7 separate regions of the Homo sapiens genome follow, and regions 2, 3, 4, 5, 6 and 7 are each linked to region 1. Evidence: promoter capture Hi-C in 16 types of primary human blood cells and fetal thymus (Javierre and others, 2016). All regions are on one chromosome and are shown on one strand. Each heading gives the region's core, a stretch centred on a gene start or on the middle of the fragment in contact. The rest is flanking DNA. Distances are from core to core; before and after follow the strand shown. Region 1 holds the start of STX4 (syntaxin 4). Region 2 has its middle 5.3 kb from the start of ZNF843. Region 3 overlaps ITGAX (integrin subunit alpha X). Region 4 overlaps ITGAD (integrin subunit alpha D). Region 5 holds the start of RUSF1 (RUS family member 1). Region 6 has its middle 20 kb from the start of ITGAX. Region 7 holds the start of ITGAX (integrin subunit alpha X).

What was found. Contacts are between HindIII fragments. The CHiCAGO score rates a contact against its expected background, and 5 or more counts as called.
Region 2: a contact is called between a fragment that was not itself captured here and the fragment with the promoter of STX4 in region 1, in 14 of 17 cell types (naive CD4 T cells, naive CD8 T cells, total CD8 T cells and 11 more). The highest score is 9.8, in naive CD4 T cells.
Region 3: a contact is called between a fragment that was not itself captured here and the fragment with the promoter of STX4 in region 1, in 1 of 17 cell types (monocytes). The highest score is 6.3, in monocytes.
Region 4: a fragment that was not itself captured here is called in contact with the fragment with the promoter of STX4 in region 1 in 2 of 17 cell types (total CD8 T cells and naive CD8 T cells); the score reaches 5.5 in total CD8 T cells.
Region 5: a contact is called between the fragment with the promoter of RUSF1 here and the fragment with the promoter of STX4 in region 1, in 1 of 17 cell types (monocytes). The highest score is 5.2, in monocytes.
Region 6: a fragment that was not itself captured here is called in contact with the fragment with the promoter of STX4 in region 1 in 1 of 17 cell types (monocytes); the score reaches 5.4 in monocytes.
Region 7: a contact is called between the fragment with the promoter of ITGAX here and the fragment with the promoter of STX4 in region 1, in 2 of 17 cell types (neutrophils and monocytes). The highest score is 9.4, in neutrophils.

Annotation. Positions count from the first base shown.
Region 1 is chr16:31,032,024-31,035,292 of GRCh38, forward strand. It overlaps STX4 (syntaxin 4), which reads left to right and starts at 1,535. Exons shown (of 11, transcript NM_004604.5): 1 at 1,535-1,812; 2 at 1,990-2,091; 3 at 2,203-2,302; 4 at 2,439-2,513; 5 at 2,947-3,017. The coding sequence starts at 1,783. RefSeq lists enhancers at 859-1,370, 1,883-2,393. The HindIII fragment of the contact is 4,602 bases long and covers 106-3,269 here.
Region 2 is chr16:31,446,359-31,449,906 of GRCh38, forward strand. No RefSeq gene overlaps it. Among named protein-coding and RNA genes, the nearest start is that of ZNF843, 5.3 kb to the left of the region's middle. The HindIII fragment of the contact is 6,267 bases long and covers 1-3,548 here.
Region 3 is chr16:31,382,863-31,386,357 of GRCh38, forward strand. ITGAX (integrin subunit alpha X) reads left to right here. Exons shown (of 30, transcript NM_000887.5): 30 at 1-137. Among named protein-coding and RNA genes, the nearest start is that of ITGAD, 8.7 kb to the right of the region's middle. RefSeq lists an enhancer at 1-246. The HindIII fragment of the contact is 1,492 bases long and covers 807-2,298 here.
Region 4 is chr16:31,400,552-31,404,124 of GRCh38, forward strand. ITGAD (integrin subunit alpha D) reads left to right here. Exons shown (of 30, transcript NM_005353.3): 6 at 1,564-1,694; 7 at 2,949-3,094. Among named protein-coding and RNA genes, the nearest start is that of ITGAD, 9.0 kb to the left of the region's middle. The HindIII fragment of the contact is 7,259 bases long and covers 1-3,573 here.
Region 5 is chr16:31,507,010-31,510,178 of GRCh38, forward strand. RUSF1 (RUS family member 1) reads right to left here and starts at 1,382. Exons shown (of 13, transcript NM_022744.4): 1 at 1,065-1,382; 2 at 755-869. The coding sequence starts at 1,364. It overlaps RUSF1-DT (RUSF1 divergent transcript), which reads left to right and starts at 1,455. Exons shown (of 2, transcript NR_186401.1): 1 at 1,455-2,027; 2 at 2,164-2,557. RefSeq lists enhancers at 368-1,083, 1,084-1,798, 1,363-1,932 and silencers at 1,093-1,152, 1,213-1,262. The HindIII fragment of the contact is 29,640 bases long and covers 1-3,169 here.
Region 6 is chr16:31,333,073-31,336,298 of GRCh38, forward strand. No RefSeq gene overlaps it. Among named protein-coding and RNA genes, the nearest start is that of ITGAX, 20 kb to the right of the region's middle. The HindIII fragment of the contact is 1,483 bases long and covers 1,189-2,671 here.
Region 7 is chr16:31,353,920-31,357,185 of GRCh38, forward strand. ITGAX (integrin subunit alpha X) reads left to right here and starts at 1,257. Exons shown (of 30, transcript NM_000887.5): 1 at 1,257-1,372; 2 at 1,974-2,079; 3 at 2,706-2,809; 4 at 3,112-3,182. The coding sequence starts at 1,336. RefSeq lists enhancers at 519-648, 839-1,028. The HindIII fragment of the contact is 18,983 bases long and covers 1-3,266 here.

The DNA of each region.
Region 1 (3,269 bases), core at 285-2,784:
AGCGATTTCCAGAAGTCCATAGCAACTCAGTCCCAGGAATCTAGGTTTCCTGACCAGGGCATAGCAGAAAGGGTCCATTCCTTTCCTTGCTTGTACCTTCACAGAAGCTTCCTGGACAGAGCCCTGGGGTCCAGGAGACCTGTTATTCATTCCCGGCTATGCTGAGACTTGCTGAGTGACCTTGGGGACTCCTTCTAGAGAATATAAGTTCCACGAGTGCAGGAATTTTTGTCTATTAGTCCTTGATGTATCTCCAGCCCTAGAACAGTGTTTGGCCCATACTATGTGCCCAAAAAATATCCATTAAATGACTGAATGTTGCTGTGCATGGTGGTGCATGCCTGTAATCCCAGCACTTTGGGAAGCTGAGGCAGAAGGATTGCTTAAGCCCAGGAGTTAGAGACCAGCTTGGACAACATAGTGAGACCGCATCTCGTAAAAATTTTTAAAAATAAAAAATGAGTGAATATCTAGATAGCCAGGATTAGAGAAGTGTCACAGTCAGAAAGCCTGAAGCCTAAAGAAGACCAAGGAACCAGGGGCTTTATCCTCAGATACATGAAAGCCTGAAATTCTGTCCACAAGTATTTATAGAGGGCCCGTAATGTTCTTGGTACTGGGCTAGGAACTCCCCAGATTCAGTTAAGAACAAAGTCATTACCTGGCCTCAGATGCAAGGCAGGGGCTGGGGGGTGTGAGTGGCAGGGAGGCAGCGTGATCAATACAAACACTTTTCTTAGCCTGAGCTGCCCTGACATGGTCTGACGGCTCACAAGGTGGTGAGTGCAGCCGGGCTGCAGTGTTCAAGGAGGGCGCCGGCTGGCCGCCCACCTGTCAGAGGCTGCGCCAGAAGGATGCGGAAGAAGAGATTTCTGCCTTGGCTGAGGTCACTTCCCACCCCCAGATTCCCTGCCCACACAACCCTGCAATTTTCTGACGCTGACGACTCGGATCCTATTATTTCCCGATTTTCAAGGTCCCATGATGCTGACAGCCCCAAATGCTAAGTCGTCAGTCCGCCCACGCCCTGGACCCGAAAGCAATAAAGGCGAGGTCAGCAAGGGTCCTACCACCCACTGCCTCGAAAGGCCTCTGGGGGTGGTCGGCGCGCCCCTCCCCACCTCGCGGGGGCCGTGTGGGCGTCGCTCGGTCGTTGGGGTGCCGGGGACGTCGTGATGAGAACGGCGTCCCAGAGACGGCGGTGACAGAGCCGGGACACGTGACAGTCACAGGGTCACATTCTGCGGTCCACGAGTTTGGGACCGGGCTGGTCACGTGACGCGGTGGGGGCACCATGGGGTGATGTGAGATGCGGGTGTCTCGGATTACGTACAAATGACGTATTCCTACCCCTTTTGGCAACCAGATTTCCGTTGGAAGATGCAACGGTTCCGGTGACGGTAGCAAGTTCTCGCGTCCAGGCATCTCCGCTTCCGCTCGGGGCGCAACAACTTCCGACTCCACCTTCCCAGCCTCGGGCAAGGAAGAGACGCGACCATGTGCGCATGCCCCGAATTTATCACGGAGGGGCGGGGCTGAGGCTGCGGGAGCTGGAGCGGGGAAGAAAAGGGAATTCCAACCTGTGGAACCTTGGGGGGTCCCCGGGGTCGGCGCCTTCCCATTGACTGTGGGCGGTGCAAGGGACGGAGCCTCTGGCGGCTCGTGGGGGTGTTGGGGTCCGCAGGGGGAGGGAGGGGAGTGTCAGAGTGTGAGCGGGGTACGGGAATTCCAAATTTGAGGGCCTCCCGGCTCTGGCGCCGGGGAGGGAGAGCTCAGGCCGCCATGCGGGACAGGACCCACGAGCTGAGACAGGTGAGACGCCAGGGCAGCGGGGATGGGGACGGGCGGACGAACTGGAACGCAGGACTTCTGGTCTTCGGGATAGGGAGGGGTGGCTGATGGCCAGGAAGGAAAGTCCCGGAAGCCTGTGGGTCCTGCGGGGTAAGAGCCGCAGCGAAACGGTGGTGCCAATGACTCCGGGCCTGGCAGGGGGATGACAGCTCGGACGAAGAGGACAAGGAGCGGGTCGCGCTGGTGGTGCACCCGGGCACGGCACGGCTGGGGAGCCCGGACGAGGAGTTCTTCCACAAGGTAAGGGGCTGGGGTCTCCGCCTGGATTCGCGAGGGTGTAGGAGGACCCGAGGAGTAGCGTGGTCTGGAGTACCCCATATCTCTTTCAGCCCTCTCGGTCACCCTCCCCAGGTCCGGACAATTCGGCAGACTATTGTCAAACTGGGGAATAAAGTCCAGGAGTTGGAGAAACAGCAGGTCACCATCCTGGCCACGCCCCTTCCCGAGGAGAGTGAGTGAAACCCCGGCTGCAGGGCGCATGCTCCGCCCCAGGGATTGTGGGGGTTGTAGTTCCACGCAGGTGGTGGCCAGAGTGGTTTGTTGAGGTGGGGGCTGCTGTTTGGGAGTCTTGGCCTTCTCTTATTCAGGCATGAAGCAGGAGCTGCAGAACCTGCGCGATGAGATCAAACAGCTGGGGAGGGAGATCCGCCTGCAGCTGAAGGGTGAGCTCCTGGGACCTCAGACAGATCCTTCCCTCTGATCCTGCCCTGTTGTTGGTATATCTGGGGAGTGTGTGGCCCAGAGAAGCCAGTGATATATCCAGGTCACACAGCAGGCCTGGGTCTAGCATCTGTCTCCTGGCCTCCAGGCCATTGTACTCTCCACAGCACAAGTCCGCCTCTCAGGTTCTTTTATTTACAATGAAACCATTTACTTACACAGTTATCGCTGCCCACTGGGCATTCTTTGGGCAGGGAGATGGAGTTTTGTTAGGTGGCCTCTGCATACCTATGGGAACTCAGTGATGTAATGCAAAGAAAAATAAACTTACTTTCTCCTCTTAGAGGCTCAGCCTTAGTCATTTTATGATAAATTATATTTCCCTAAAAATCCTATGGAGACAAGTACCCCCAATACCCCTGTGTCTTCCCACAGCCATAGAGCCCCAGAAGGAGGAAGCTGATGAGAACTATAACTCCGTCAACACAAGAATGAGAAAAACCCAGGTGGGTTTTTTTTCTCAGAAATGAGGACATTTCAGCAAATGTTTCATGAAGTATTAGATGACAGGTGTATGAAGGAAGGGCCTGCAGAGATCATGGAGTCCAATTGGATGACTTTTCCAAATGGGGAAACTGAGCTCAGAGAGAGAAAGAACTTGCTCAAGGTCAGGAAGCCAGGTCTCCTGATGCTCAGTCCGGTTATAACACCCTGCTTTATTTTCTTCCATTCAATAGGAAGTTACTGTGACCCCAGAC
Region 2 (3,548 bases), core at 724-3,223, 410 kb after region 1:
TGAGACACAGAGAGAAATAGCACTGAATTTATCCTTGTATCAGGAGCCTACCCCTGTGATAACTAACTCATTCCCATGATAATGGCATTAATCCACTCATGAGGACAGAACTTTCATGACTTAATCACCTCGTAAAGGCCTCATCTCTTAATATTGTTACAATGGCAATTAAATTTCAACATGAGTTGGAGGGGATGTTCAAACCATAGCACTCTCAATAAAAAATTATACAATAGGCAGGGCGAGGTAGTTCCCTCCTATAATCCCAGCACTTTGGGAAGCCAAGGTGGGCGGATTACCTGAGGCAAGGAGTTCGAGACCAGCCCAGCCAACATGGCAGAACACTGTCTCTACTAAAAATACAAAAATTAGCTGGGCATAGTGACACACACCTCTAATCCCAGCTACTCGAGAGGCTGAGGCACAAGAATCCCTTGAACCTGGGAGGCAGAGGTTGCAGTGGGTTGCGATTGTGTCTCTGCACTCCAGCCTCAGTGACAGAGGGAGACTCTGTCTCAAAAAAAAAAAAATTAAAAATTAAAAAAATATATGTATATATACAAGGTAGATATTGAATATCTGCATGCAAAAGAATGAATTTGGATCCCTATATCACAATACATATAAAAGTTAACTCAAATTGAATCATAGAACTAAAAGTTAGGACTCTTAGAATCTTTATAACTTTGAATTAAGCAATGCTTTCTTAGATATGACACCAAAAGCACAAGCAACAAAAGAAAAAAATACAGAAACTGAACACCATCAAAATTGAAACCTCTTGCGCTTCATATGACATTATTCTTTAATTTTTTTCTTTTTCTTTCCAAATACCCAGACGTCAGGGAGATTCACAGGACATTATTAAGAAAAAGAGAAGATAAAAAAGAAAAGGAGAAGATAACCCACAGAGCAGGTAAAAATCTTTGCTAATCATATATCTGGGAAGGGATTTGTACCTAGACTGTATAAAGAACTATTGCAACTCAATGATAAAAAAGACAAATAATCCAATTTAAAAATGGAATTAGGCTGGGCACGGTGGCTCACGCCTGTAATCCCAGCACTTTGGGAGGCTGAGGTGGGCGGATCACCTGAGGTCAGGAGTTTGAGAACAGTCTGGACAACATGGTGAAACCCTGTCTCTACTAAAAGTACAAAAATTAGCCAGGCATGGTGGCATGTGCCTGTAATCCCAGCTACTCGGGAGGCTGAGACAGGAGAATCACTTGAACCCGGGAGGCAGAGGTCACAGTGAGAAGAGATCACGCCACTGCACTCCAGCCTAGGCGAGAGAGCAAGACTCAGTCTCAAAAAACAAAAAAAGGAAAGAAAGAAAGAAATCAGTCGAGTGTGGTGGCCTGCACCTCTAGTCCCAGCTACTCGGAAGGCTGAGAATCACTTGAACCATGGAGGTGGAGGCTGCAGTAAGCCGAAATTGTGCCACTGCACTCCTGGGCAACAGAGGAGTCCTTGTCTCAAGAAAAAGAAAGAAAAAGAAAAAAAATTAAATGGGCAAATGACTTGAATAGACAGTTCAAAGAAGTTATATAAATGGCCAATAATTACATGAAAAGATCCTCAACATCATTAGTCCTCAGAAAAATGCAAATCAAAACTACAACGAGGTGCCACATCATACATATTAGGATGGTGATAATAAAAAAGACAGGTAATTACGCCAGTAGTGGCGGCTCATGCCTGTAATCCCATCACTTTGAGAGGCTGAGGTGGGCGAATCACCTGGGCTCAGGAGTTCGAGACCAGCCTGGTGAACATGGTGAAACCTAGTCTGTACTAAAAACACACAAAAAATTAGCCAGGCATGGTGGCGGGTGCCTGTAGTCCCAGCTACTCAGGAGGCTGAGGCAGGAGAATCACTTGAACCTGGCAGGTGAAGGCTGAAGTGAGCTGAGATCACGCCACTGCACTCCAGCCTGGGAAACAGATGGAGACTCTATCTCAAATAATAATAACATTATTATTATTTTTAAAAATAATATTTAAAAAACATTAAAATTTTTTTTTTAAATAATATTTTTAAAAATGATATTTTTTAAATGATAATATTTACAGGCAGTGGCTCACACTTGTAATCCCAGCACTTTGGGAGGCCGAGGTGGGCGGATCACCTGAGCTCAGGAGTTTGAGACCAGCCTGGCCAACTTGGTGAAACCCTGTCTCTACTAAAAATACAAACATTTGCTGGGCGTGGTGACAGGCGCCTATAATCCCAGTCACTTGGGAGGCTGAGGCAGGAGAATCACTTGAACCTGGGAGGCGTAGGTTGCAGTGAGCTGAGATCACGCCACTGCACTCCAGCCTGGTGACAGAGTGAGATTCCGACTCAAAAAAAAAAAAGCTGAAAAGACAGTTAATTAACAAGTTTTTGTGAGAATGTGGAGAGATTGGAACCCTCACACATGGCTGGTTGGAACGTAAAATCATTCATTAACTTTGGAAAATGGTCTGGCAGTTCCTCAGATGTTTAAACATAGAGTTATATGATCCAGCAATTTCCCTTCTAGATATGTAACCAAAAGAAATAAAAGCATATTCCACAAAAACCTTGTACGTGAGTATTCATAGCAGCATTATTCATAATAGCCCGAGTGGAAACAACCCAAATGTCTGTCAACTGATGATTGAAGAAAGTGGCATATCCATGTCTTAGTCTGTTTTGTGCTGCATCGTAGAATGCCTAAGGCTGGATAATTTATAAAGAATAGAAATATCTTTCTTTCAGTTCTAGAGGTTGGGAAGTCGAAGGTCAAGGGCCCTGCATCTGGTGAGGGCCTTCTTTCTGCCTCATCCCACAGCAGAAAGCGGAAGGGCAAGACAGTGCAAGAGAGGGGGTGGGTGGGGGCAGAACCCATCCATTTATCTATCAGCTGTCCACTCCCTTGATAACTAACCTACTCATGCAATAATGCCATTAATCCATTCATGAGGGAAGAGCTCACATAACCTAATCACTTCTTAAAGTTCCCACCTCTCAACAGTTGAATTGGAGGTTAAGTTTCCAACACATGAACTTTAGGGGACAGGTTCAAACCACAGCAATCCATAAAGTGAAACTGTATTATTCCTAATAAAAAGAAATGAGATACTACAGTGTGGATGAACCTTGATAACATTATGCTATATGAAAGAAGCCAGACACGAATGACCACACATTGTATGATTCCATTTATATGACATGTCCAGAATAGGTCATCTGTAGAGATAAGATGTAGATTAGTGGTTGCCTAGGGTTGGGGTATAGGGGGTGTTATGGACTGAATGTTTGTATCGCCCCCAAATTTATACATTGTTTAACCCCCAGTGTGACTGTATTTGAAGACAGGGACTGGCTGGGCATGGTGCCTCACGCCTGTAATCCCTGAACTTTGGGAGGTCAAGGCAAGCAGATCACCTGAGGTCAGGAGTTCAAGACCAGCCTGGCCAACAAGGTGAAACACCGTCTCTACTAAAAATTCCAAAAAATTAGCCAGGTGTGGTGGCAGATGTCTGTAATCTCAGCTACTTGGGAGGCTGAGGCAGGCGAA
Region 3 (3,495 bases), core at 303-2,802, 350 kb after region 1:
ATGCCAAGACATGATTATTTTTTTAAAAAGCGTACTTTAAATGTTTGTGTTAATAAATTAAAACATGCACAAAAAGATGCATCTACCGCTCTTGGGAAATATGTCAAAGGTCTAAAAATAAAAAAGCCTTCTGTGGATATGAGTCCTGAAGGATGACACCCATGGGGTCCCTTTACCACGGTGGACCCTGGCCAGCACTGAGGCCTGGGGCCAGGACAAGAAGTTAACCAGAGTAGGGTTGTGAATATCCCTCTCTTGGAAGTAACCTGACCTCTTAATCTGCTCACTCCACTCTCAGGGCTGGTGCCGATGGTAAGCTGGTGGAGCTGTCGGGTGGAGGGGGCATAGAATAGAGAAGGGACAACCTCCAGTGGCTACTTTTCCACCTGGAAAGGTCTCTGGAGTGACCAATACTCACAAGCGTTTCCTACAAGTCCTAGGATGTGTTGAAGGGCACACTGTCTGCATATAGTGAGTGATTGAAGAACATGTTGGGGTCCCACATTGAGAGCTGCTGCCCACAATAAGGTCATTCTTGCTATTATGCCACCATCCTGGCATAAAGTTCATCATGGTGCTTGGCACTGAGCTGGGGGCCTCACAGGACAAGCCATTCCTGACCTCGGAGTGACGCCACTGCAGCTATCACCAGCAAGGGACCCGGGCCGTGTGGATGTTTCAATTAGAAAAACAGAAGGGAGGCAGTTGAGTGATTTGAAGGGAAGATGGAAAGTGGCCCTTTACCTCCAGCCAAAAATGTCTGTCCTATACATCAGCAGAGGCTCCAAAATCCCTGTGGATTTTGAAGCTTTTGAGTCCCCAGGATGACTAATTATTATGCAGTTTCCTCAGAAAGGGAATCAGAAGATAAGGCTTTGTAAGAATTCAGCCCTAATGGCTGGGCACAGTGGCTCATGCCTGTAATCCCAGCACTTTGGGAGGCCGAGGCAGGAGGATTGTTTGTGCTCAGAAATTTGAGACCACCCTGGGTAATATATTGAAACCTTGTGTCTACAAAAAAATTTAAAAATTACCCAGGCATGGTGGCATGTGCTTGTAGTCCCAGCTACTTGGTAGGCTGAAGCAGGAGGATCACTTGAGCCTGGGAGGTTGAGGATACAGTGAGCTGTGATTTGGACCACCACACTCCAGCCTGGGCAACAGAGAAAGATCATGTCTCAGAAAAAAAAAAAAAAATTGACCCTAGAGTGGTGTTTCTCAAAATGTGTTCCACGAACCACTGGTGGTCAATGATGGTCTTCTAAGTGGAAGGTTTTAGAGAAAAAGAGCAAGAAACCCATACATCTCAAACATTTGAAACTAGTGATTTGCACAGAAATAGTGTTGTGGCCTTAATAATTGTGTGGCACACGGACTCCAGGGACTACAGTGGGTTCTTGTCTAAATTCAGGCAACAAGTTGTTATTTTCTATTTTATTTTATTATTATTATTTTTTGAGATAGTCTCACTTTGTCTCCCGGGCTGGAGTGTAGTGGCACGATCTCGGCTCAACGCAACCTCTGTCTCCTGGGTTCAAGTGATGCCTCTGCCTCAGCCTCCCAAGTAGCTGGGAGTACAGGGGCGTACCACCATGCCCATTTTTATTTATTTATTTTTGAGACAGAGTCTCGCTCTGTCACCCAGGCTGGAGTGCAGTGGCATGATCTTGGCTCACTGCAACCTCCGCCTCCCAGGTTCAAGTTCAAGCGATTCTCCTGCCTCAGCCTCTGGAGTAGCTGGGATTACAGGCAGGCACCACCATTTCCAGCTAATTTTTGTATTTTTAGTATAGATGGGGTTTCACCATGTTGACTAGGCTGGTCTCGAACTCCTGACCTCATGATCCGCCCTCCTCGGCCTCCGAAAGTGCTGGGATTAGAGGTATGAGCCACTGTACTTGGCCGACAAGGTGTTATTTTCTGATATTCTTCCTTTGTGTGTTATTGTGTACATTTATTACATTTGCATTTTCAGGGTTGGCTATTGTGTTGCATTAGATCCCCGAATCACAAAATGGATCAATGGCTCAAAAGCATGGAAGTTGTGATTAAAAACTAATCTAATTGCTACAATTTACAATAATGTCATCAAAGTCAATATTGACTTTTAAATATTGAGCCCAGTGCACGTATAGTATAGACATGCATACCGGAATAAGTGATTGTGAGCCAAAACCCGAAAATATCTAGAAGGTATTATACTCCCTGACAGGTAGGTTGTATTGGTTCTGACATGTATTTGTCCCTAGTGTGCTGCCCATTCTGAAACTTTATCAAACAGTCGCATGAACCTCTGAAAGCTTTTGTGTTATTTTCTTATTTATTTATTTATTGAGATGGAGTCTTGCTCTGTCGCCCAGGCTGGAGTGCAGTGGCATCATCTTGGCTCACTGCAACCTTTGCCTCCTGGGTTCAAGTGATTCTCCTGCCTCAGCCTCTTGAGTAGCTGGGATTACAGGCGCGCACCACCACGCCCAGCTAATTTTTGTATTTTTAGTATAGACGGGGGTTTCACCATGTTGGTCAGGCTGGTCTCGAACCCCTGACCTCATGATCTGCCTGCCTCAGGTAAAGCAATAGAGATTTCTTAGAACAACTGCTACATGTAGCTTTCCTATTCAAAAGTGATTAGTGTTGTCACCGAATACAGAGGAGACAGCAAAACCACAGTGACATAAATCAAAGGTGCTTTTTAAAGTAGCAAAAGTAGGTACAAGTCACATAATTTCCAAGAAGCTTGTAGAAATGGCAGTAGAGTTCATACCTGTATTGAAAGGTTGCTTTTGGCTGCAAATAATAGAAAAAAACAAAAGCATGTAAGAGCAGACAGAAGACCTTTACTCTGCAAGAGGTTCAGGTGCAGGTTAGTGTTTAATGCAGAGTCTCAGCATTGACAGATTCTTTCTGATCTTCCAATTGATCGTCCTTGCGGGGGCGGTTTAGTTCTTTCCCACTGACTAGGATTGGGTCAAATTCCATCCCCTTGGTTGCATGCAGTGCTGAGAAGGTGAGCATGTGCTTTTCACAGGCTTAATAAAAAGAGGTAGCTCCAGCCAGGTGCAGTGACTCATGCCTATAATCTCAGCACTTTGGGAGGCAGAGGTGGGTAGGTCACCTGAGGTCAGGAGATTGAGACCAGCCTGACCAACATGGCAAAACTCTGTCTCTACCGAAAATACAAAAATTAGCTGGGCATGGTGGCAGGTGCCTGTAATCCCAGCTACTTGGGAGGCTGAGGCAGGAGAATCGCTTGAACCTGAGAGGTGGAAGTTACAGTGAGCTGAGGTCATGCCACTGCACTCCAGCCTGGGGGACAGAGTAGAACTCTGTCTCAACAAAAAAAAAAAAAAAAAGAGAAAAAAAAAGGAGGGTAGCTCCACCAGCCAGGAAGGTGGCAGCGCTGGTGGCTGTTGGATAGGCTACCTACAGTGTCTGGCAAATACTATGCTTGAAGACTATGCTGTGAGCAAGATTCCTTTGTGAAGGAACAGCTTG
Region 4 (3,573 bases), core at 1,014-3,513, 370 kb after region 1:
ATGATGTGCCCTCACGATTGCAGAGTGAACTCCACAAACTCTGAGGTCACTTGGGAATGTTCTTTTTTTTTGAGACGGAGTCTCACTCTGTCGCCCAGGCTGGAGTGCAGTGGCACAATCTTGGCTCACTGCAGCCTCCACCTCCCAGGTTCAAGTGATTCTCCTGCCTCAGCCCCCCAAATAGCTAGGATTACAGGCACCGCCACCATGCCGGGCTAATTTTTTTGTATTTTTAGTAGAGATGGGGTTTCACCATGTTGGCCAGGCTGGTTTTGAACTCCTGACCTCAAGTAATCCGCCCACCTCAGCGTCCCAAAGTGCTAGGATTACAGGCGTGAGCCACCACTCCCAACTGGGAATATTCTTGGGCACCGCACCCATGGGAGCATGAAGGGTGGATGCAATGCAATCATAACAGAGGCCCAAGGTCAGCACTGGGGTGCTTGCCTGTCATCCCAGTGCTTTGGGAGGCCGAGGTGAGTGGATCGTTAGAGCCCAGGAGGTTGAGACCAGCCTGGGCAACATGGCGAAACTCCGTCTCTACAAAAAGATACAAAAATTAGCCAGGCAAGGTGGTGCACACCTGTAGTCCCAGCTACTCAGGAGACTGAGGTGGGAGAATTGCCTGAGCCTGGGGAGGTCGAGGCTGCACTGACCTGTGATCACACCACCACACTCCAGCCTGGGTGACAGTGAGACTCTGCCTCAAAAAAACAAAAAATGAAAAAACCAGAGGCCTCAGCCAATGCCTGGGGGGCTCAGAGTGCAGCTGGCCCTTCAGACGCTGAACCAGTCATCGGTAAAGGTTTCCTCCAGGGGCAGGAGGTGTCCCAGTGGGCAACAGTTCCCCTCTGCCTAGCGTGATTCCTGGGAAGGGACTCAGCTCAGAGCCAACTCCACGTAGCTGGAAATAAGGACCTCTGACCGACTGGGGGTAGGGTGGGGTCTGGGGTGGATCCCTGCCCCACCCCCACAGCATCCCTACAGGCATATCCTACAGGCCTCGAAGGTGCCTGGCACGTGGTGAGAATGGTGCCAGCGGCTGACCCTGGCAGAGGGCCAGGACTTGTCTCCAGCACCCATGTGCGTGTTGCTTTATCCTTGCAGTGATCCCACGTGGTAGCCACTGATATTACCTTCATTTTACAGATAGGGACACTGAAGTCCAGAGAAGTTAAGTAATGTGCCTGAATTCACCAATTAGCACGTGGCTGAGCTGGGGTTTAGCCCAGGCACACTGGCTCCAGAACACGCGCCCTGAACCACTTTGCTAAACATTCGCCCTTGATGCTTGTGGCACCCCTAGCATCTGTGTTTAATGAATATTTGTTGATTAAATGGATGAGGAGCCCACCTGGGTCCTGTGTTGTCATCCCTCTCTTTCCAGGCCATGTGGGAGGAAGGGAGCAGGGGGCTGGGGTGGCAGACTGGGGCCTCCTCCAAGGAGGGGTCGGAAACTAGGTGGGGATGCCAAGAACAGCCCCCGGGCTCTGTTGAGCAGGAGCTGCAGGAGGGGGTTGGGCCCCCGCAGTGCATCTCCGATTCCTCCCCATTCCCCCACAGAGTGTCCACATCAAGAGATGGACATCGTCTTCCTGATTGACGGCTCTGGAAGCATTGACCAAAATGACTTTAACCAGATGAAGGGCTTTGTCCAAGCTGTCATGGGCCAGTTTGAGGGCACTGACACCCTGGTGAAGACTGGGCACCTGGGGCTGGGGTTTGGGGGACGGGGGAGGCTGGCCTCGGGGAGGCATCCCGGGAGGGGTGGGGGCAGGCCAGTGAGCCGTGTGTGATGGGGCTGGGGTGGAGAATGAAGCTATGGTCCCAGCACAGGCCCAACTTGAGCCCTGACCTAGGAGGCCCTCTTGGCATTTAATAATGTATCCAAAAGCTACAGGAAATACAATGTTTCTGCTGTTTAAAAACATTGAAAGTGTTTAAAAAATAATTTTGCTATGGAATTTGACTGACATATTTTCTATGTAACTAATGATTTCTTTTTATTATTTTATTTTCCCATAACTAGTGCCTATGTATGTGCAAAAAAACCCCACTGTTTTGTTTTTTAAACAGGGTCTTGTTCTGTCATCCAGGCTGCAGTGTGGGGGTGCAATCATAGCTCACTGCAGACTTGATCTCCCAGGCTCAAGTGATCCTCTTTCCTCAGCCTCCTGAGTAGATGGGACTACAGGTGCATGCCACCATGCCTGGCTAATTTTTAAAAATTTTTATTGTAGAGATGGGGTCTTGTTATATTGCCCAACCTGGTCTCCAACTCCTGGCTCAAACAACCCTCCCACCTTGGCCTCTCAAAGTGCTGGGATTACAGGCATGAGTCACTACGCCCAGCCACAAATTCTTGAGAAGGGAGGAAATACACAAATTGATTTAATGTGTGATAAAATTTTTAAAAAGCTAAGGGTAGCAAATATTGTGGTTGGCAAAGTTATTTTTAATAAACTGTGAAGGAAATATCATTTGGTTTAGATTTTCCAGTTTATATTTTGTATTTTTGGGCCAATGAATTTTCTTCTCTGGGTTTCAGTATATTATTTGTAGGGCTTCAAAACACATGGGAAATGGTTTGTAAATCCAAAATAATTCCAAAATAAAGTTTATTAAAACTGAAAACAATATGGCTTGGTGTGGTGGCTCACACCTGTAATCCCAGCACTTTGGGAGGCTGAGGTGGGAGTATTGCTTGAGGCCAAGAGTTCGAGACCAGCCTGGGCAACATAGTGAGACCTTGTCTCTACCAAAAACAAAACAAAACAAAAAACAAAGCCAGGCATGTGACGTGTGCCTGTAGTTCCAGCTACTTGGAGGCTGAGGCAGGAGGATCACTTGAGGCCAGGAGTTTGAGAGACCCTGTCTCTACAAAAAATTAAAATAAAAACAATAGTAACAGGCACTGAGCCCTGGGCCCTCCCCACTGGCCTTTGCAGTTTGCACTGATGCAGTACTCAAACCTCCTGAAGATCCACTTCACCTTCACCCAATTCCGGACCAGCCCGAGCCAGCAGAGCCTGGTGGATCCCATCGTCCAACTGAAAGGCCTGACGTTCACGGCCACGGGCATCCTGACAGTGGTGTAAGCAACCCCGACCCCAGCCTGGCGATGTGACTGCCACCCCCACTTCCTAACCCTGGGTCAGCACAGCTCTTCTCAGAGGCTGAGGGAGGCTCCAGGGAAAGGGGCTACCAAGGGGCATGTCGGGGCTGCAGGGAGAACCTCCCCCCGGGGTGCTCCTGGTTGCCTCGCTGCCAGTCTCCCTGATATAGGACTAGGCTCCTCTGCAGCTATGCCTCCCCTTTGCCTGGTTCTGCAGAGCCTGGACCCCAGGACCCCTCCCCACCCCACAGCAGCCAGAGGCCCGGGCTTTGGCTCAGACACATCAGGCTCCCATCCTGGCTCCCCGTGAGCTACTCTGGGTGTAACCCTGGGGTGATGGGCTCTAAGTCTCAGTAACTCTCAGATGAAGATAAGCTCACAGCTTAGGATTGAGATCATGTGTGTGGGGTGCTCAGCCCGGGGCACGTAGGAGGTGTCGGATAAATGCCTGAGGTTTT
Region 5 (3,169 bases), core at 132-2,631, 470 kb after region 1:
TAGATCTATTAGGTTGGCTCAAATGTAATTGCGGGTTTTCCATTACCTTTAATGGCAATAACGACAAAGAAACCCCGCAATTACTTTTGCACCAGCCTAATAAATATCCCCTGCGAGCAGTAGTGAAAGACAAAGGACAGTGGCAAAAGCCATGGGGCCTCCTCGTGTAGAACATGTAACAATTTCCCTTTTCTGTTCTATTTCCCTCTCTGGGTGGCATGGTACCAAACTGTATTTTTTTTCCTTAAACAATTTTTTAAAAGCTGTACATATTCAGCAGATAGTCACTCTATTATTTACAGCATCATCTGGTATCCCAGAGCATACACAATACCTTCCATTCTTTCCAGGCTCTCCTCTCTCCTTCTCAGGACCAACTATATCTTTTTTTTCTGGAGCTCACCAATTTCCCCTATCCTGGGCAGCTGGCAGTTTTATTCCATCAATTGCATTCTTATGCAATCTTCCACAAAGAGAATAGGGATAAAGGGGAGGGGACGGGATTTGGGATCCAGATGATTGAGACTCAGAAGTCTGTGTGGGGAATGGAGTGCGGCTGCTAGGCTGGTGAGTGGGATGAGGGTCTTCCAGATGTGGGAAGTAAGACTGGGTTACAAAGCACCACTCTAATCACTGGGGAGACCTGCCTGAATTCTACCTAATGGGGCACGAGTCCATACATATATACACATAAGAGCCCAGCGAAAGCAGGGCTGAAAGCAGCAATACGTGAGGCTCCAGGGGTGCAGCTCACCTTTCACGAGCCAGGTGGCCGTGGCAGCTGAAACAGTGGCTTTTGCGTTCCCCACCCCTATGCCCAGCAAGACTGCCTGGGTGGCTAGGGAGCCGGAGAGGCTGGAAGCAAACGCCTGGAGAAGAAAACAAGTAGGGTGAGAAGCGGGCGTAGGAGCGTGGCGGTCTAAGTGCCTTCATCTGTTCTTGTTCTTGGTGTATGAGGCATGTCAGACCCCCCGCCCCCCGGGCTCCGAGTCTCAGTCACCCGTCCATTATTGGGGAGGGAGGAGTGGCCTGCACTGTCCTCTGCCCCAGACGACCGAGCTGACCTGCACGGAATCCCACAGCTGGTAGGGCAAGTAGTCCGGGCTGACGCTATCAGGGAAGCCCTGAGGCAGGAACACGGCCTGGAGCCCGGAGAGGGGCGGTGAGGGGGCCCCGGAAGCCCCCACTTCGCCCGCATCTCGTCCTTCAGGTTTGACCGTGAAGGCCCTGGAGAGCCCCCACCAGCGCCAGCCCCCGACCTCCCACTGCAGGCTCCCGTCCGCGGCGGCGCGGCAGCCCCGTGCCTCCCCGGAGCCGAACTGCTCGGAACACAGCGGGGTCTCCAAACCCGCGTCGTCAGCCATGCCGAGCTTTTGGATCCCAGCCCCGCCCCTGCCGCACGGTGGACGTGGCAGGCGGCACTTCCGGCTGGGCTACCGCGGCTGCAGAGGGACATCTTTCAAGAACAGGCGCCGGCCTCGGCGTCCGCCGCGCAGTTAGGAAACTGACTGTCGCTCTCTCCGGCCTCGGCGCTGCTTCGGACGCCCCGGCACCGGCCCCCGTTGCTTTGTAGCATTCTGCAGCTGGGCTGCAGGCGCCGTGGGCCTCCGCCAGTTGTGTTCGAGACGCGGTTCGGCCACAGAAGTTTTAGCTTGTGACTTTTGGCAAGTCAGTGGCCCTCTCTGGGCCTCAGGTGCCTTTTTTGCTGTGAGACCAGCGACTGTATTTTTAACCCTGATTTTATCCCTAGATCTACCCAACACATAGTAGGTGCTCAAAAGATATTTATGAGTGAATGAATGCATCATGAGAAGAAATTGGACCAGATGAGGCCCTGTGAAGCTGCTTGGGTCTTTTTTTGTTCTTTTTTTTTTCTCTCTTCTGAGTGTCCCTGGCCTGGACTAGAAATTCTCCATCCTTCGGCCTTCTGCGAGACTGCAGGAACATTACTTTTGAAGGATGCTAAGGAATCCGAGGGATGAAAAAAATCAAGAGATTGCAATGATGTCACAAAACAAGGAAACAAGGCAGGAAGTTCTTGTGTGTTTTTTTGCGGGAGAGAGTCCATGAAATTGGGGGGAGTCCAAAGAGGGAGTGTTTCTGTCCTTGGAACTCACCTTTTCTTCTTTCCATTTCTCCTCTTCTCCTTCCCATCTAGTGCAGCATCTTCACTCCGAAGCAGAAATTTGCCAAAAAAGCATCCTCTTTTTATCAGAAAATAAAATATCCTGGTTTCTTAGCCTGGCATTCTTGGATCCCCACAGTTTGATCCCAACCGACAACTCCTTATTTGAAACTTCAGATTCTCCCAAACCGTCACCTTCCTCGTGGACTTAATCCTGGAAGGCCCTTCTACCCCACTTCGCCTTATCTCACACAAACACAGTCTCTCTCTGACTGAGATAAACTTGAACACTTCTTTTCTTTTCTTTTTTTTTTTCTTTAAATTTCGGGTTTCAAAATACAAATGGCCTAATCACAACATTTCTGTAATGTTGTCTAAATTCAGGTACTGGTTTGAATAGAGGACAAAAATAAAACAAGGTTTGAAGACTAAGTACTTTAAAAACATATTTATTTAAATAGAGGCAGGGCCTCCCTATGTTGCCCAGGCTGCTCTCAAACTCCTGGCCTCAAAAGTGATCCTTGGGCTGGGCGTGGTGGCTCACGCCTGTAATTCCAGCACTTTGGGAAGTCGAGCCAGGTGGATCACTTGAGGTCAGGAGTTTAAGACCAGCCTGGCCAACATGTTGAAACCCCATCTCTACTAAAAATACAAAAATTAGCTGGGCGTGGGGGTGGTGTGGCCATAATCCCAGCTATCCGGGAGGCGGAGGCAAGAAAATCGCTTGAACCGTGCAGTTGTCATTAACTCCGTGTTTGTTATCTCTTTTTTACCAATGGTTTGCCAGTTTCTTCTACAAATACCTGTTGCTACCTATGTGCTCATTGGGATAGTGAGCAAAAACAAACAAGGGTCTTGGTCTTTTGGAACTTATATTAGGGAAGGATATTGATCAAATCATACAAATAAATGCAAAGTTGGAACTATTTCAATTGCTGTAGAGGGGTACATGTTATTTAATATGAGGACTTTTAGAAGGAGAATTGAGCTAATCAGTGGAATCAAGGGAAACTTTTTTTTTTGAGATGGAGTCTCCCTCTGTCA
Region 6 (3,226 bases), core at 680-3,179, 300 kb after region 1:
CAACATAGTGAGAACCTGTGTCCACGAAAAATTAAAAAAATTTAGCCAGGCCTGGTGTTACATGCCTGTAGTCACAGCTACTCCGGAGGCTGATGCAGGAGGATTACTTGAGCCCAGAAGGTCTAGACTGCAGTGAGCCATGATCGCACCACTGCACTCCAGCCTGGGTGACAGAGTGAGATCCTGTCTCAAAAATAAACAAAATAATAAAATAAAGGTCGGGCACAGTGGCTCACGCCTCTGTAATCCCAGAACTTTGGGAGGCCGAGGCTGGTGGATCACCTGATCTCAGGAGTTTGAGACCAGCCTGTCGAACTTGGTGAAACCCCGTCTCTACTAAAAATACAAAAAAATTAGCCATGCATGGTGGCAGGCAACTGTAATCTCAGCTACTTGGGAGGCTGAGGAAGGAGAATTGCTTTAACCTGGGAGGTAGAGGTTGCAGTGAGATATGATTGCATCACTGCACTCCAGCCTGGGCGACAGAGCAGGACTCCATCTTAAAAAAAAAAAAATAAATAAAATAAAATAAAATAAAGAGATGGCTCCAGGAAATACCGAGGAAGGGAAGGCTGCCAATAACAGGTGTATCACCCACAGAGAAGCTGCTGTGAGTTCCTGGAGCTTCACCCCACTGGGCAGTTCTCGGAGGCAGTGCAGAACACGCACCTCAGTATCACCCCACCCAGGGGAGAAGGCTGGAGCGCATAGACACCGATTCCACTTAGCTATTGGATGAGGGCTGCTCTTGGTGGGGAGAGTGTGTTAATTTCCTACCACTTCTGGCCTGCCCTGAGTGTGAGGAGAGTGGGCTCTAGTGGCCAGAGAAAGTGATACCAGTGCTGCTGGCTGGATGTTTGACAGGTGAACACAGCCCCTGACACGGTGCCTTTGGTTCAGGTCAGGGCACCAGGAGCACTTGCTGCCAAGGTGTGTGCAGGTGACATTTTGGTGGCTGCTTCCTCAGAGGGAGGATGCCCAGTGCCTGTCCCTCATACTTTGCAAACACAGTAAACACTAGCCTGGCCTGAACATACATCCTCTCTAATCCTCACACCAGTCCTTGGTATTTACATGAATTTCACTTATGAGGAAACCTAGGCTTAGATAGATCATACCAGTTGCCTGAGGTCATACAGCTGGGAAGGAATGGAGCTAGGAGTTAATCCCAGCTCTGCCTAGGTCTAAAGCTTTTCTCTTTTACTGTCCTGACAGCCTCAGAGGAATGGCCCCAGAACAGGCATGAGGGAGTGTGGGGAGAGGGTGGCTGTTATTTAACTGTTATGATATTGGGTTAAAGCATATGAAATTGATGACATGTTTTTGGACAAAAATGTTTCTTTCTTTTCTTTCTTTCTTTCTCTTTCTCTCTTTTCTTTCTCTCTCTCTTTCTTTCTCCTTCTTTCTTTCTTTCTCCTTCTTTCTTTCTTTCCCTTCCTTCCTTCCTTCCTTTCCTTCCTTCCTTCCTTCCTTCCTTCCTTCCTCCTTCCTTCCTTCCTTCCTTCCTCCTTCCTTCCTTCCTTCCTTCCTTTCTTTTTTCTTTCTTTCTTTCCTTCCTTCCTTCCTTCCTTCCTTCCTTCCTTCCTTCCTTCCTTCCTTCTTTCTTTCTTTCTTTCTTTCTTTCTTTCTTTCTTTCTTTCTTTCTTTCTTTCTTTCTTTCTTTCTTTCTTTCTTTCTTTTTTTTCATGGAGTCTTGTTCTGTCGCCCAGACTGGAGTACAGTAGTGTGATCTCAGCTCACTACAACCTCTCCCTCCCGGGTTCAAGTGATTATCTTGCCTCAGCCTCCTGAGTAGCTGGGATTACAGGCGTGCACCACAATGTCTGGCTAATTTTTTTTTTTTGTATTTTTGGTAGAGATGGGGTTCCACCATGTTGGCCAGGCTGGTCTTGAACTCCTGACCTCAGGTGATCCATCTGCCTTGGCCTCCCGAAATGCTGGGATTACAGGTGTGAGTCACTGTGCCCAGCCAAAAAATGGTAATTTCATGATCTTCATTGAAATACAAGAAAATCATGGCTTAGAGGGACACTTGTTTCACATGTGGCAGGAGGAGAGAGGGCTTACTCCTTAGGGAGGTGAAGGAAGGGTCCCCAAGGGAGGTGACACCTGACTGAAGCAGGGCCAGAAGATCTCCAGGCAGAAGGGAGGGCAGGGGAGGCTGGGAGAGTGGGCAGGGCTTGGGCATGAGTGCTTTGTAAGCCAGAGTGAGTAGTTCCAATTTCACTCAAAGTGAAGTGAGATGCCCTCAAAAGGTGGCTAATGAGACAATGGCCCTTTGTATCTGTGGGGGTGACACAAAACACGGTCACCTTTAGACGGTTCTTTGCTATTTCCTCTCCTGACTTAAATAAAGTCTGTTAAGAATTTCTGTGTTTCCTTATGTTGAAAGATAAAAGTCCTCAATATCTGCAGAAGTCCTGAATTGCTCCGGGAACAGAGAGAGTTCTGTACCTTTAGTCGCCTGTCCTTTCACCCTCCATGTCTGTAGTCGCCTGTCCTTGCAGCCTCCATGCTGGTCCTTGTAGCCTTCGTACCTAGTTGCTTGTCCTGGCAGCCTCCATACCTGTAGTTGCCTGTCCTTGCAGCCTCCGTGCCTGTAGCCGCCAGTCTTTGCAGGGCAGTTAAAGTCCTGTGAACTCAGAGTTCACCTCCGCGTCTTCAAATGAGAAGCTTGTGTTGAATTCAGCCAGATAGGAGCTTTATGATGGGTTAGAAAAGTCAATCATTTCAAGCGACAGATTTCCCTAGCATGACCACAAAGTGACTAATAAACAGGACCATAAATCTGGTGATAAGTGGCCAAGTCCAGGAACGTCTGCTTGCTTTTATTTTTGGGGATTTCTCACTTCAGAATAAATGAATCCCTTCAGTATCCACTCTCCTTTTCCTACTTAGAGTAGAATCTTAATTTGGGCCACCATGGGAGATGGTTACAATTCTGACTCCCAGTGAATGGTGCTTCCCGGCCCTACACCCTTGCAGTGTGACATTGCTGTCCCTGACATCACATGGTGCGGCCTGTCTACCTCTTTGAATCTGGGCTGGTCCCGTGGTTTGCTTTGATTAATAGAATACAGTAGGAGTGTGGTCGTGTGAGTTCTGGAGCCTAGACCTTTAGGAGCACAGCAGATCCTGCCCTGCACCCCTCGGAACACTGAGGTCACCACGCCGTGATCCATATGGCCCACTGGAGAAAGAGTGGACTCATGGAGGAGACAGCGGA
Region 7 (3,266 bases), core at 7-2,506, 320 kb after region 1:
CCACTTTCTAAAATGAAAATGTGAAGATCTCAGTCCCCATGAATTCCCTTCAATGCTGTCCTCCACTCTCAGGACAAAATCAATGTGTCTTCACCAGGTGTGGTGGCTCACACCTGTGATCCCAGCAATTTAGGAGGCTGAGGCAGGAGGATTGATTGAGATCAGGAGTTTGAGACCAGCCTGGCCAACATGGGGAAACTCTGTCTCTACTAAAATTAAAAAATATATATATATAAATATATATATATATTCAGGTGCAGTGGTGCAATCCTATAGTCCTGGCTACTCAGGAGGCTGAGGCAGGAGGATCCCTTGGGCCCAGGAGTTCGAAGCAGCAGTGAACTATGCACCCACTGCACTCCAGCCTGGGTGGCAGAGCAAGACCCTGTTTCTGAAATTAAAAAAAAAAATTGATGTACATTAGGGGGGCTTCCACGGCCTGAGGCCTGCTTCCCCTTGCTTTCCTCCCAGTGGCCCTGACCTTGTCTCTTACAACTTCCCACCCTGACTGTCTGGTTCCCATTGCTGATTTCACACACAGACCCTCCTGTCCCCTGCCTCATCCATGTCTGGCTGCTCTGTCATCTCCCAACTTTGGTTGCTTTCAATGCTCAGCTCAAGCACCACCTCTTTCAGGAAGCCTTCTCAGAAAGCCACACCTTCACAACCCGGGTGAGGCACCCTGTGGTCTCTGTGCTTCCCCCTCACAGCAATGAACTTGCTGTTTATACATCTGCCTCTCCACTGACCCCAGGGCTGGTGCTTTGTGGTTTATATTTTCTTCCCCACCTAGCAGAGGGCTTGCATCTCCAGGCTCAAATTAGGCTTCTTGAATAAATGATGAATAAATGAGTGAATGAATGAATGAACAAATACTCGCTCTGTGCTCCTCCTAGGGACCCGGATGCCCCACTCCTTGGCCCAGACTTTCCAGGTCAGAGTGGAGGGCTCCCACCAGGGTTTCCTTTAGGGTCCTGAGGGGTTGGCATCTGCCCAAACCCCCTCCAGTCTGGCTGAAATTTCAAGGTCAAGGGGTGCCTTCTGGCAGTCAAGGGTGAGCCTGGGAGGGGCAGGGCAGGGATTTGCATCCATCTAAGCAAAGGGCATCAAGCCAAGTCATCTGATGAGAGTGACTCCGGTTGGGGGGTGGGGGCGTGTGGGAGGCCGAGCCTGTCCTCGGATCAGTTGCGTACTCTGCCCGCCCCCTCTGACTCATGCTGACAATCTTCTTCCTTCCCCTGGCCACCTCTCTGCCCACTTGCTTCCTCAGTACCTTGGTCCAGCTCTTCCTGCAACGGCCCAGGAGCTCAGAGCTCCACATCTGACCTTCTAGTCATGACCAGGACCAGGGCAGCACTCCTCCTGTTCACAGGTGAGCCTGGACCCCAATGAAGTAGGGCTGGGGACCCAGGCCCAAGGGAGCCAGGGCCCTGAACTGGGGGCTCAGGCTGGGGGGTTAGGATCTGGGTAGGAAGAGAGACTCAGTCAAGCCTGAGGGGGAGGCAGGCACATAGGGTCTGAGATTTGGAGTTTGTGGAGGGAGAGGATATTGATGAACCAATTTTGGGAGAGTTCCAGAGATGCTGGAAGAGAGGCCAGTTGTCTCTGTACTGCAGAGATTTTTAAAATAGGCAGAATGCGCCAACTTGTGCTCTGTGGACAGGATGCTTTGGTCCGCAAGTTTTCCTGGACTCACTCTCATAGCGCCCGAGGTGCACGTTGGGGAAAGATCCTTTTTAGAGCCTGGGTACTGCTCTGCAGAAATGGAGAACTGCAACTCGATAGTGGATGGTGGGCAAGGGGCATCCCTGGACCCTGGGAAGGAGAGAAGGGGATGAGTTGGGTGTCCAGAAGACCCAGGCACCCCGGGCATCAGGCTCGGAGGGGAGATTGGGACGCTGGGGCCGGGGGTGGAGGGCAGCCAGGCAGAAGGAAGACCCTTCTCCAAAGCTCTCTTCCCACCTCTTTCCCAGCCTTAGCAACTTCTCTAGGTTTCAACTTGGACACAGAGGAGCTGACAGCCTTCCGTGTGGACAGCGCTGGGTTTGGAGACAGCGTGGTCCAGTATGCCAACTCCTGGTGAGGCCCAGGTGGTGCTGGCCTTTGGCTCCATCCATCCTCTCCCTGCTCAGGGCCCCATGCCCCCGGCCCTGCCCTGTTATTTGCAAACTCTCCTCTCTGTCTGGTGTAGCGACTGCCCTGGCTAATGAAGATTTGCCTTGAAGGCAGGCACGGTCTCACAGCTAACATTTACAGAGCAGTAAGTGCAGTGCCAGGCTCATCACAGGTGGATGCTGATTTAGTCCACACGACAGCCTGTGAGTAGGAATCAGTCGTGCAACAAACACTTATTTGTTTTTTCTTTCTTTTTTTCTATACATTTAAAAATATATAGAGACAGGGTCTCACTATGTTGCCTGGGTTGGTCTCAAACTCCTGGGCTCAAGCAATCCTCCCGCCTCAGCCTCCCAAAGTGCTGGGATTCCAGGTGTGAGCCACCACACCCAGACTCAACAAATATTTCTTGTCTCCATACGCCAGAGAATCCAACAGACAGAAATCCCTTCCACATGGACTTTAAATTATTAAAATCCATCTTGCAGATGAGGAAGCTGAGGCTCAGGGAGGGAACGCAAACTTGCCGGAGTGGCAGCTGTGCTGCAGCGTCCACACTCTTACCTAAAGTGTTCTTTGTCTCCTCGCAGGGTGGTGGTTGGAGCCCCCCAAAAGATAACAGCTGCCAACCAAACGGGTGGCCTCTACCAGTGTGGCTACAGCACTGGTGCCTGTGAGCCCATCGGCCTGCAGGGTGAGTCACCGCCCCTCCCGGGACCCAGGGCCGGGCTCCCAGGCTTCCCTGCTCCAGGGGCCCGTGGACTCACCGGAGTGTCACTTTCAGCTTCCACTGTGTCTGAGACCCTCACCCTCAGATATGCTTCCTGGCCCCTTAAGGCCTCCCCGCCCATCGCACTCCCGCAGCTCTGTCAAGACCCGACAGCTTCCTTCACCGTCAGACCTCCTTGTCTCCCAGGTGGAGGTGACCCCTGCCCAGCTCTTCCACAGCCTTCTCTGTACCCCCGAGAGTGACCATGCACATATCTGTCCCCACAGTGCCCCCGGAGGCCGTGAACATGTCCCTGGGCCTGTCCCTGGCGTCTACCACCAGCCCTTCCCAGCTGCTGGTGAGTGGCCCTGGGTCACAGGAGGCTTCTGAGGGAGGGAGGGAGGAGCCGGGGCCGCGGGGGGCTGGGAGTCTCCTGTAGGGT